2 separate regions of the Homo sapiens genome follow, and region 2 is linked to region 1. The links are contacts of gene promoters, found by promoter capture Hi-C in human tissues and cell types (Jung and others, 2019). All regions are on one chromosome and are shown on one strand. Each heading gives the region's core, a stretch centred on a gene start or on the middle of the fragment in contact. The rest is flanking DNA. Distances are from core to core; before and after follow the strand shown. Region 1 holds the start of TNNT2 (troponin T2, cardiac type). Region 2 overlaps INAVA (innate immunity activator).

Region 1 (4,524 bases), core at 1,021-3,520:
TTACAAGGAGCTCTGAACCGCAGCTCTGAGCCACTTTTTTGCCCCAACCCCCAGGGTGGGGTGAGTGGGTGAGAAGAAGAGACATCAAATGTGCGAGGTGCTATAATGCGGGATCAAGCCTCATTCTGCTGAAAAAAAGACTCAAACCCCAGAGGTTCTCCAAATAGGTCTTAGGATGAGAGTGGCCAAAGAGAATAGCCTTCCTAACCCTAGGATGGGTGGGGCTGACAATTGTTACCCAAAGCCCCAGGGGAGCGGCCAGAACTAGTGACTTGAGAACTTGAGGAGCTCCTACCTGAGCCCCAGGAGAAGCTTGTCCCTCAGTGGGAGGGAGAAAATTCTCAGAGGAACCGTGCATGGCCAGCCTGGGCGCATAGCTTCTAGCTTTCTCTCTCCTCTCCTACTCTGCCCTTCCACCAGTTCAGAGCCACTGGGCATGGTGCTGGGGCCTCACAGGAGGACAGAGCAGCTTGGACTCCTCTCCCTGTTCCTGGGGGCACCATCCAGCTCCCAAAAATAGCATGCAGACATGCAGGATGGAGGAGGGCTTTCAGCCAGCCCAGAGGACACCACCATGCCAGTGGCTCAAAGGCAGGACCTGATGCAGGGGAAAGAGGTGGGCTGAGACTGGGGGCTGCAGAATGGGAGAGAGTCAAGAACCTGGCAGGGCAAGGAACCAGAATGTCCTGAAACACCTGTGTCCTCACACCCAAGTCCCACCCACTTCCACAGGCAGCTTTCTAGCCTAATGCATTCATAGCCAACACGTGTTGGAAGCCTAACACGTTCACAGGGTCACCTTTCTTGGGGAGTAAAGCAAAGACAATAGAAGGCATAAGGCATACTGACCTTGGGGTCAAAAAATCTGGGCTTAAAACCCAGATTTTGCTGTGTGGCCTTATTTAAGTCACCTAGCCTCTCTGACTTCAGTTAACCAACTACAAAGCAGGAGAGCCTTGAGTTCTGTCCCTGTAGAAACAGTCTCCGAGTTTCTGAGAAACACAGGCCCCACCCCTCAGTCCTTGTCCCCAGCACTCGAATGGGATTTTCCTAAGCCAACAGCTGTTAGCCCACCAGGAGAGCGGGGGTAAGGGGATGGGGAGAGGGCAGGAAGAGTGGAAGTGGGGGTCAGAAATAGGAGGCAGCCAGCAACCTGATCCTCTCAGATTCCACTTTTGCAGAGAGAAGGAAGATTCGCCCTCTAAGACATGGGTCAGAAAAGGAATTTGGGAGGGCAGGTAGCTTCCCGGCTACAGCAGGCCAGGAATGTGCTCTGAAATTCCTTACACACCAGGCAACCCCCTCCCTGAATAGTCCTCAGCCTGCCCAGGAGAAACTAGAAACCAAGGGAATCTTTCTCTACCACTCCTGGGCACAGAGCAAGGCTTGTCCCAAGATGGGGTGTTGGGGTGGGATGGGACAAGGGTTACACTTACGGGGGCCCAGGTTAAACCCTTTAATGCCAACCAGCTGGGCTCACACCCAAGGACAGGTTCTCCCAGTGGGGCCTTTCCCCATCTGCCCCCCAAGTGCAGCTCAGCTCAGGGTCTGGGAGCTCAGCTCAGCTCTGGGAGGGAATGGCACTGAGTCAGCGGCATCAAATGGAATTCCCGCGTTGGCCTGGAGAGGCGCTGCAGAGGACCCTGCACATCTGGTCGTTCTCAGTACTTCCAGGACAGTTTCTGAGTTCCTAGCCTTGAGAATATGACCAGGAGACTCACTTGACTGACAGGGCTGCAGTCTCGCTCTGCTCCCTGGGACTCAAGAAGGACCTGACTGGAAAGGTATAGGTGACCCTCGGCCTGGAACAAGCAATTTAGGGGAGTCTCTGTTGGTTAGAGCCTCATTGTATTTAGAGCAGGCAGAGGCCTAGCAAATATTTAGCCCACTCTACAGATGAGAAAACTGAGGCCTGGGGAGGGAAAGTGACTCATCCAAGAGTTTAAACTCTACATCTTTAGTGGCAGGTCCAGGACTCCAACCCTAGTCTCCAATGGCTACCATGGGATTCTCTCTTTCTCTCTGCTCTATTGTACCAATCTTGGAGCCCAGACCTGGCAACCTGTCCTCTGAAGTGTGGCCTCCACCAGGAGGGGCCATGGACTTCTGCGGACACAGGCAGACTCTGGGTAAATATGCCAGGGCCCAAGACCCTCACATCTCCCCGTCCATTCTCTGCTCTCCTCTTCCCCAGAGCCCTGCCCGAGCCTTACCTCAGAACAGCAGCTGCCGACAGATCCTGGAGGCGTCTGCTCAGTCTCAGCGGGGACTGGGTGAGGCAGAGGATGGAGAGGGCTTTAAGCAGGCATGTGGGCTGGGGCCTGGTGAGCCAGCCCTGCGGAGGGAGGAATGTGCGACAGGGGACGGGTGGGGCAGGGGGATGGCGGTGGGGGTGGGGGGTGTTGGCTGCTATTTTGGCAGGTGCCAGGGACAAGGCTACAGGAACATGTACCCCACGCCATATAAGCCCATGTGGTCCTCCAGCTGCTCAGATAAGCTATTTAAAACCAGAGCAGATATGCAGGGAACAGTCATGCAACATAAACCAGCTGTCCCTCTTGAGAATCCTGATAAAGCAGAGGCCAGCAACCCAGGCCTGGGAGGGCCAGCTGGGAGCAGGGTTGGGGGGCAGAAGGCAACCTCCAAGACACTCCATAAGTCTCAGCACCAGAATCTTGGAAGGCAGAGGGCAAGAGTTATGTGCTGCTCCACTTGAACTGATGCTGGGGGTAAAGACATCTTCCAGGCTACTGGCTCCTAATGGACTGAGCAGCCTTAGGCAGGTTGCCGGCTCTGCCAGCCCCAGTGAGGACATCTGCAAGGTGGGTCTTCTCCATGACCCCCAAAGCCATGTGGCACACCCTCCTCACAGGGAATGGACTGAAACTGCTACAGGAGGCCAGATACAAGGTAGAACTTCCAGTCAAGAACCTTGAACAGGCGCTCGTTGTGTGAGAGGGGTGATGCGGACTGTCAAAGGTCATCCCCTAACGGCTTTAAAATCAAGCAGTGCGGGGCTATGATCTGCTAAACCTACTAGATTGCAGATGCATAGGTCAGGCCTAGGGGTCTTGCTTGCTTGCCTGTGTCTGACCATGCACATGCACTTGTATGTTCAAGGCTGGCCCATTGCAGGGTTTGGTAGATTATGAAAATGAAAGAGACAGGAGGAAAGCAAGCCAGTAAGCAGCTGAGCTGACTCTCCCCTCCATCTCTTTCTCCGAATCTTCACAGCCTAGGTCCTGCTTGGCTCTGAAGCAGGAATGGTCCTCCTCTGGAGCAGGCCCTCCCCTCCTCCATGACCCCCCCTGGCACTTAAAGATCTTGCCCATTCATGATCCACACTCCTCTGTTTCTCCGTGGGCAAAGAAAGCAATCTCGCTATTCTCTGCCCCCTTCTCCCATCACCCAATCATGTGTCCCGCCTTCCCAGTCCTCAAACTCTTCTCTCAATCCCTCTGCCTTGGGAGCTACTATGCTGCCTCCACCACTAATGTCCTTGAAAGGGTCCTCTGCGCAGGGGACTGCCATTTGCTCCACACCCATGCTGCTGTCAGACTCTTGTCCCATCACTCAGCTGACTCCATCCCCTCCATAGTTCCCTGTGGCCTCTGAGTCCAGTGGCCTTGATTGCCCTGCCACGTGGGCCTCCACACTGCCAGCACATCTGTGGCAGGGCAAGCTGAAGCCAACCGCCCGCTGGCCAGCATTGTGGGACTGAGGACCACCACAGGGAAGCAGGGGCACTTTGTAGAGAGACAGGCAGATGGAGGGGACAGATTCCCGAGGGATAGTGAGGAAGGAGTCAGGCTGTCAAGAAAGTGGGGGGAGCCCCATCATCTCTCTCTCCCATTCTAGCCCACGAAGCAGGGCCCAGCCTTGCCTTGGGTCCTGGCCTGGAGTAACGTAGAATTCGGAATTACTTTTCCCAAACCCTTTTTTAACTTGAGGGTGGGTTACTGTTCCTTGTAAGCCCAATAACCTTTCAAACAGACCACGGTTTATTTGCATGGATGCCTAGAAGAGGGATCTGGGCACCTAGGTCACTACTGAGCCCCATGGGAAAAGCCCAGTAGATCCTTGGTGTCACAGGCCACACGTGTATGGCTTCGAATTGTTCTAAGGCAGGAGCTTCGTTCAGAGCGCTGTGAGACAGCCTCTCAGATAAGGAAATCCAGCCCCCATGCAGCAGCCACTCCTGGGCATAGTAGGGTTACTCTTAGCCCATTTTTTTTTTATATCCCTGTCCTTTCAAAGGGATGTAAAGAGAAAACAAAGCCAGAGTGGAATGGGAGGCTTATGCTGAAACAGTGCATGTAAATTTGAGGATCCACAATAGGACGGGCCACTTGTGGGGCACAGGGCCCCTGTGGCAAGACAGCAGGAGGGTGCAGCCCGGAGTGGTGTGTGGGAGCCCTGTTCTGTCTCCAGAAGGTGCCCAATGTCACCCATCCAGAGGCCTCCCCACCCGCCTGGACACCCAGTCGCTACCACTCATCTATCCCCAGCTGAGGTCATCTTGGG
Region 2 (4,524 bases), core at 596-3,095, 470 kb before region 1:
CTTCCAAAGACTCTAGTTTTGTCTTTTTGCATAACTTGATTCAAATTTTCTACCCTTGCCATGTTTCCTTGTGCTGGTAGATTATTATTGGTCACTGACAATAGGCAACTCACTTTTTCAATTGATGCACAGTTGATTCTCATTATCTGTGGTAGTTATGTTCTATAAAGTAAAATTGACGCAAATCCTGAATTAGCAAATACTGAACCCTTGCCCCTGGGGAAATATAGGGTTAGGTTCCCGTGAGCCTTTGGTCACGACATTTTGCATCAACTGATTAATATATAACCTTATGTTATGTGAGTTTCTGCTTAAGGACACCTTACTTAATATGGGTTGTTGATTCATTAACTCATGGCCAACAGCACTGTAACTCATACCCAGATGAAGCTTACCTAGCACACATATTTTCTCCACAAGGCACACCACAGCCTTTTCCCAGTATGCCTTAGGGAGGAACAGTAGACAGCACTTTGGCACTGTATTTGGGGGCATTTTAAACAGCAGAATCACTAATCAAAGCAAAAACACACACAGTACATAAATATGCCACAAAAAGGACACTGTGCACTTACAGCATGAGAACTGAAACATGAGGGCAGAACATGGCCTCGTTTAACCTCAGAACTTAAAGAGACTCAAATTTGTCACTTTTCTGCAGTGTCCAAGAATGACCATGAAAGCACTGTGTATATTGCTTTGGGGATTAAAAATAAAGTTTAGCAACTAGGAAAATTACAAATACTGAATCTGCAAATAATGAGAATTGACTGTATGTTACTTTCTAAGTCATCTGCTACTTGGTAATAGTTTAAATGGCTAAGCGTTGACAGGCAGTATTGGCCATACCATATGGGGACTGGGGCACCATGAAAGCACTGCTGAATTCTCCATCAGCTTAAATTGGCTGGTCAGGCAGCACTGAACTGGGGGCAGCTTGGGACAACTGCTCTCAAGTAAAGCAATGGATTTTGTTTAATTTTTAAATTTTTTTTGAGGCAGAGTCTTGCTCTGTCATCCAGCCTAGAGTATAGTGGCGCAATCTTTGCTCACTGCAACCTCCGCCTCTCAGGTTCAAGCGATTCTCCTGCCTCAGCCTCCTGAGTAGCTAGGATTACAGGCGTCCGCCACCACACAGCAATAGATTTTATATTTTACATGCTACGAGGGCCATTTTACAAACCATGCCTTTGTGCAAATTAGGAAAAGGCAGACACAGCCCCATACCTGGGTGCATTAGTAGAGTGAAGTGAAGGCTGGATTTCAGCCCCTGCCGGTCTTGGGCTGCAGGTAACTGCTCTGGGTACCACATGACAGCTTTTACACGTTCAAGTAAGGTACCTGGCAGTGCCTACCGAACAGATGCTGTGGATGATCTGCCACTGGACACGGTGTACCTAAGCTGAAAGTACTTAATGTAGTACTTTAAAAAAAGTAGTTAATGTAGTACTTTAAAAAAAGTAGTTAATGTAGTACTTTAAAAAAAGTACTTAATGTAGTACTTTAAAAAAGTACTTAATGTAGTACTTTAAAAAAAGTACTTAATGTAGTACTTTAAAAAAAGTACTTAATGTGCTACTTGATGTAGCACACTTTACACGAATCACAAGCTTGTGAATGCAGCAGGAACACTTTTGCACACAGGGAAGGAATGCGTTGGCACCCACGCAGCCCGGCAGAGGGTTTGTTGGTTTGCTTTGGGAGACTTGACCTAAGACCCTTGCACGAGGGCCATGCTTGGGCCTTGAGGTAGAGCAGGACTCACCTGTTTTAACTCCACCTCCCGCCCCAACCCCAGTGTGGAGTTTCTGCCCCCCACACTCAGAATGCCTCTCTTTCCCTCTTCAGGGTGGATTCCTTCCGGGCGGGTCCTGAGGGCCGAGGTCGCAGCGCCTTTCCCCGCCGCCGCCCCACTCACTACACGGTGACAGTGCCAGATTCCTGCTTTCCCGCGACCAAGCCCCCGCTGCCCCACGCCGCCTGCCACTCCTGCTCAGAAGACAGTGGCTCTGACGTCTCCAGCATCTCCCACCCCACTTCGCCGGGCAGCAGCAGCCCCGACATCTCCTTTCTGCAGCCTCTCTCCCCTCCCAAGACCCATCGTCACCGCGGGGCCTGGGTCCCAGCCGGCAGCAGAGAGCTGGTCGCCCACCACCCCAAGCTACTGCTGCCGCCTGGCTATTTCCCGGCGGGGCGGTACGTGGTGGTGGCTGAGAGCCCCCTGCCGCCTGGCGAGTGGGAGCTGCGCCGCGCAGCCCCGGGCCCTGCTTACGAGGAGGAGGGCACTCCCCTGCGCTACCAGCGTCTGGTGCCCTCCCGCAGCCGCATCGTGCGGACGCCCTCCCTGAAGGACAGCCCGGCAGGCCGGGGGCTCAGCAAGGCCGCCGTGTCCGAGGAGCTCAAGTGGTGGCACGAGCGTGCACGCCTCCGGAGCACCCGCCCCCACTCACTGGACCGCCAAGGAGCTTTCCGGGTCAGGAGCCTGCCCCTTGGGAGAGAGGGCTTCGGACGAGCCCTGGGACCCCGGGCACAGGTACGGCTGCTCTGGAGGGACCCCGGGGCCAGGCAGGAGGGCTGTTTTGTTGGGGAGGGGCTGCAATTCTAGTATGTCCAAGGGTACAGAGGCATCAAAGCAGCAACCTAGTGGCCGGGTAATCCCCGTCTAGGAAGAACAGGCCAAAAAATCATTTCCTCTTGGCTTTGGAAGGCACTCTTGGCTTCCCTGGGGCACCTCCTAATTTTGCCTGCCATGTCTAGCTCAAGAGCATATACACTGGTGGAGATGATCCCCGAAGATAGCTGAGACTTTTTCTCTCCCTAAATGATGATGCACAAAGCAGATAAGCCTCTTCATAATCAAAAGTCCAGTCCAAATCAGCCCCTCAGATTTCCATTTGAAGGTCTAGGACAAAGGGAGAGTAGGAAATGAGTTGCAGAAGCCAGAACCTGTGATTTTCTGGGCATCAGCATCCTCCCTGACACCCCTCCTCACCACCAAGCCGAGAAGAAGGGTGGCATCAGAGTTAAGAGCACCCACCCTCAAGCTAGACCACCAGGTTCAAATCCCAGTTCTGCCACTTACGAGCTGTATGATTGGGCAAGTTACTTAACCCCTTTGGACCTAGTGTTTCCTCCCCTGTGAAATGAGAGTAGTAGAGTACCTATCTCATAGGGCTGCCAAGAGGCTGAAATGATTAGAGCAATGCATGGTAAGCGCTAGATATGTGATATTATTATCATCTGGGGCCACAGAGGCCAGGGAGCAGGCTGGAGGGTAGTATATAGGATAGAGCACCCTGACACTGGGTAGGGTGGCAGCCTTGGTTTCCTTGGCCCCTATTTCTTCATTCTGGAAGTGGGGAGCCACACACAGGAATCCTTTCTTTATTCTTTCTCCCTGGTACGGAGGGCTCTGCAGGTGATGTGCTCCAGAAGTTACCAACAAGCTGCTTCTTTGAGACCCCAGATTCCCAGCAGACCCAGCTGCGTGTCCCTCCCCCACCCACGGTTCTTTGGACTGCAGCTGGCATCCTGGGCCTGGCAGCACCCTGGCCCCGGTCCGAGGCCGCGCCCTCCAGCTGACGTGCTTTTCCCTTTCTGCGCGCTTGGGCCTGTCCTTGGCTGGATAGACCCAGCCCATCCCAACGTGCCAGACAGGGAGGGTGATGAGAAGTGAGCCCAGGAAAGGTGGGGGAGGAGGAGGTCAGGGCGCCTGTCACACCCCAAAAGAACATGGAGGAAAATGTGTAAAGGGGGTCCCTGAAGAACAGAGAGCATCCTGGGAGGAAGGGGCTGAGTGCCAGGGCCTGCTGCTGCTGCTGCTTCTGCTGGTCAGTGTCCCTAAGGGATAAGGATGGTGTAACTGTGCCTGCTGTCCCCGCTTTTCTGCCTGGTTCATTTACCCACCTGTCCTTTCTTCCTGACCCTGGCAGGTGCCCACAGTTTGTGTGCTGCGGAGATCGCCTGATGGGGCCCCTGTGCAAGTCTTTGTACCTGAAAAAGGAGAGATCATCAGCCAGGTGTAACTCTGCGCCCCACGCTGGAAAAAACTGTTTCATAGAGGGGCTGGGCTGAGACCCCCCCACCCCTGAGTGCCTCTTTCAGCTCCCCCATCCCCATCGCAGGCCGATGACCTGGAGCTGAGACCTTTTATTATTTTTTTTTTACACGACTTTTTTCAGAAGCCCTGACCTAAGGATTTATATATGTGGATTGTCCTCAATACCCCTGTGATATGATTATGTTTTATCCCCCAGAGTTTGGCCTACTGGACTTAAGGCCTTGCCTGTCTGACTGACAGCCTCTATCTCCTTATATAAGACAAGTGGCAGGGGACGAGTGAAGCAGAGTGAGCCACCTTGGGAGTTCTCCAACGCTCTGTGCTCTGGTTCTAAGAAATTCCCTGGGGAACTGCCCCTGGCCCTCCTGTCCCACTATTGCTGGAGGCTGGACATGGTACATACTCATGCACATGACTCTCCCCCATTTCCCAGGTCTCTGGGTACCCCAGCCTGGGCTGGGGGA

The links. The method cuts DNA at HindIII sites, captures the fragments that hold promoters and counts their contacts. A contact is called where the count stands out against the background at its distance.
Region 2: a fragment that was not itself captured here is called in contact with the fragment with the promoter of TNNT2 in region 1 in 1 of the 25 tissues and cell types used here (pancreas).

What each region holds. Positions count from the first base shown.
Region 1 is chr1:201,375,410-201,379,933 of GRCh38, forward strand. It overlaps TNNT2 (troponin T2, cardiac type), which reads right to left and starts at 2,271. Exons shown (of 17, transcript NM_001276345.2): 1 at 2,214-2,271. RefSeq lists enhancers at 801-1,297, 1,702-2,239, 2,240-2,777, 4,114-4,524. The HindIII fragment of the contact is 17,386 bases long and covers 1-4,524 here.
Region 2 is chr1:200,909,605-200,914,128 of GRCh38, forward strand. INAVA (innate immunity activator) reads left to right here. Exons shown (of 10, transcript NM_001142569.3): 9 at 1,849-2,533; 10 at 3,933-4,524. The coding sequence ends at 4,025. Among named protein-coding and RNA genes, the nearest start is that of INAVA, 17 kb to the left of the region's middle. The HindIII fragment of the contact is 7,621 bases long and covers 1-4,524 here.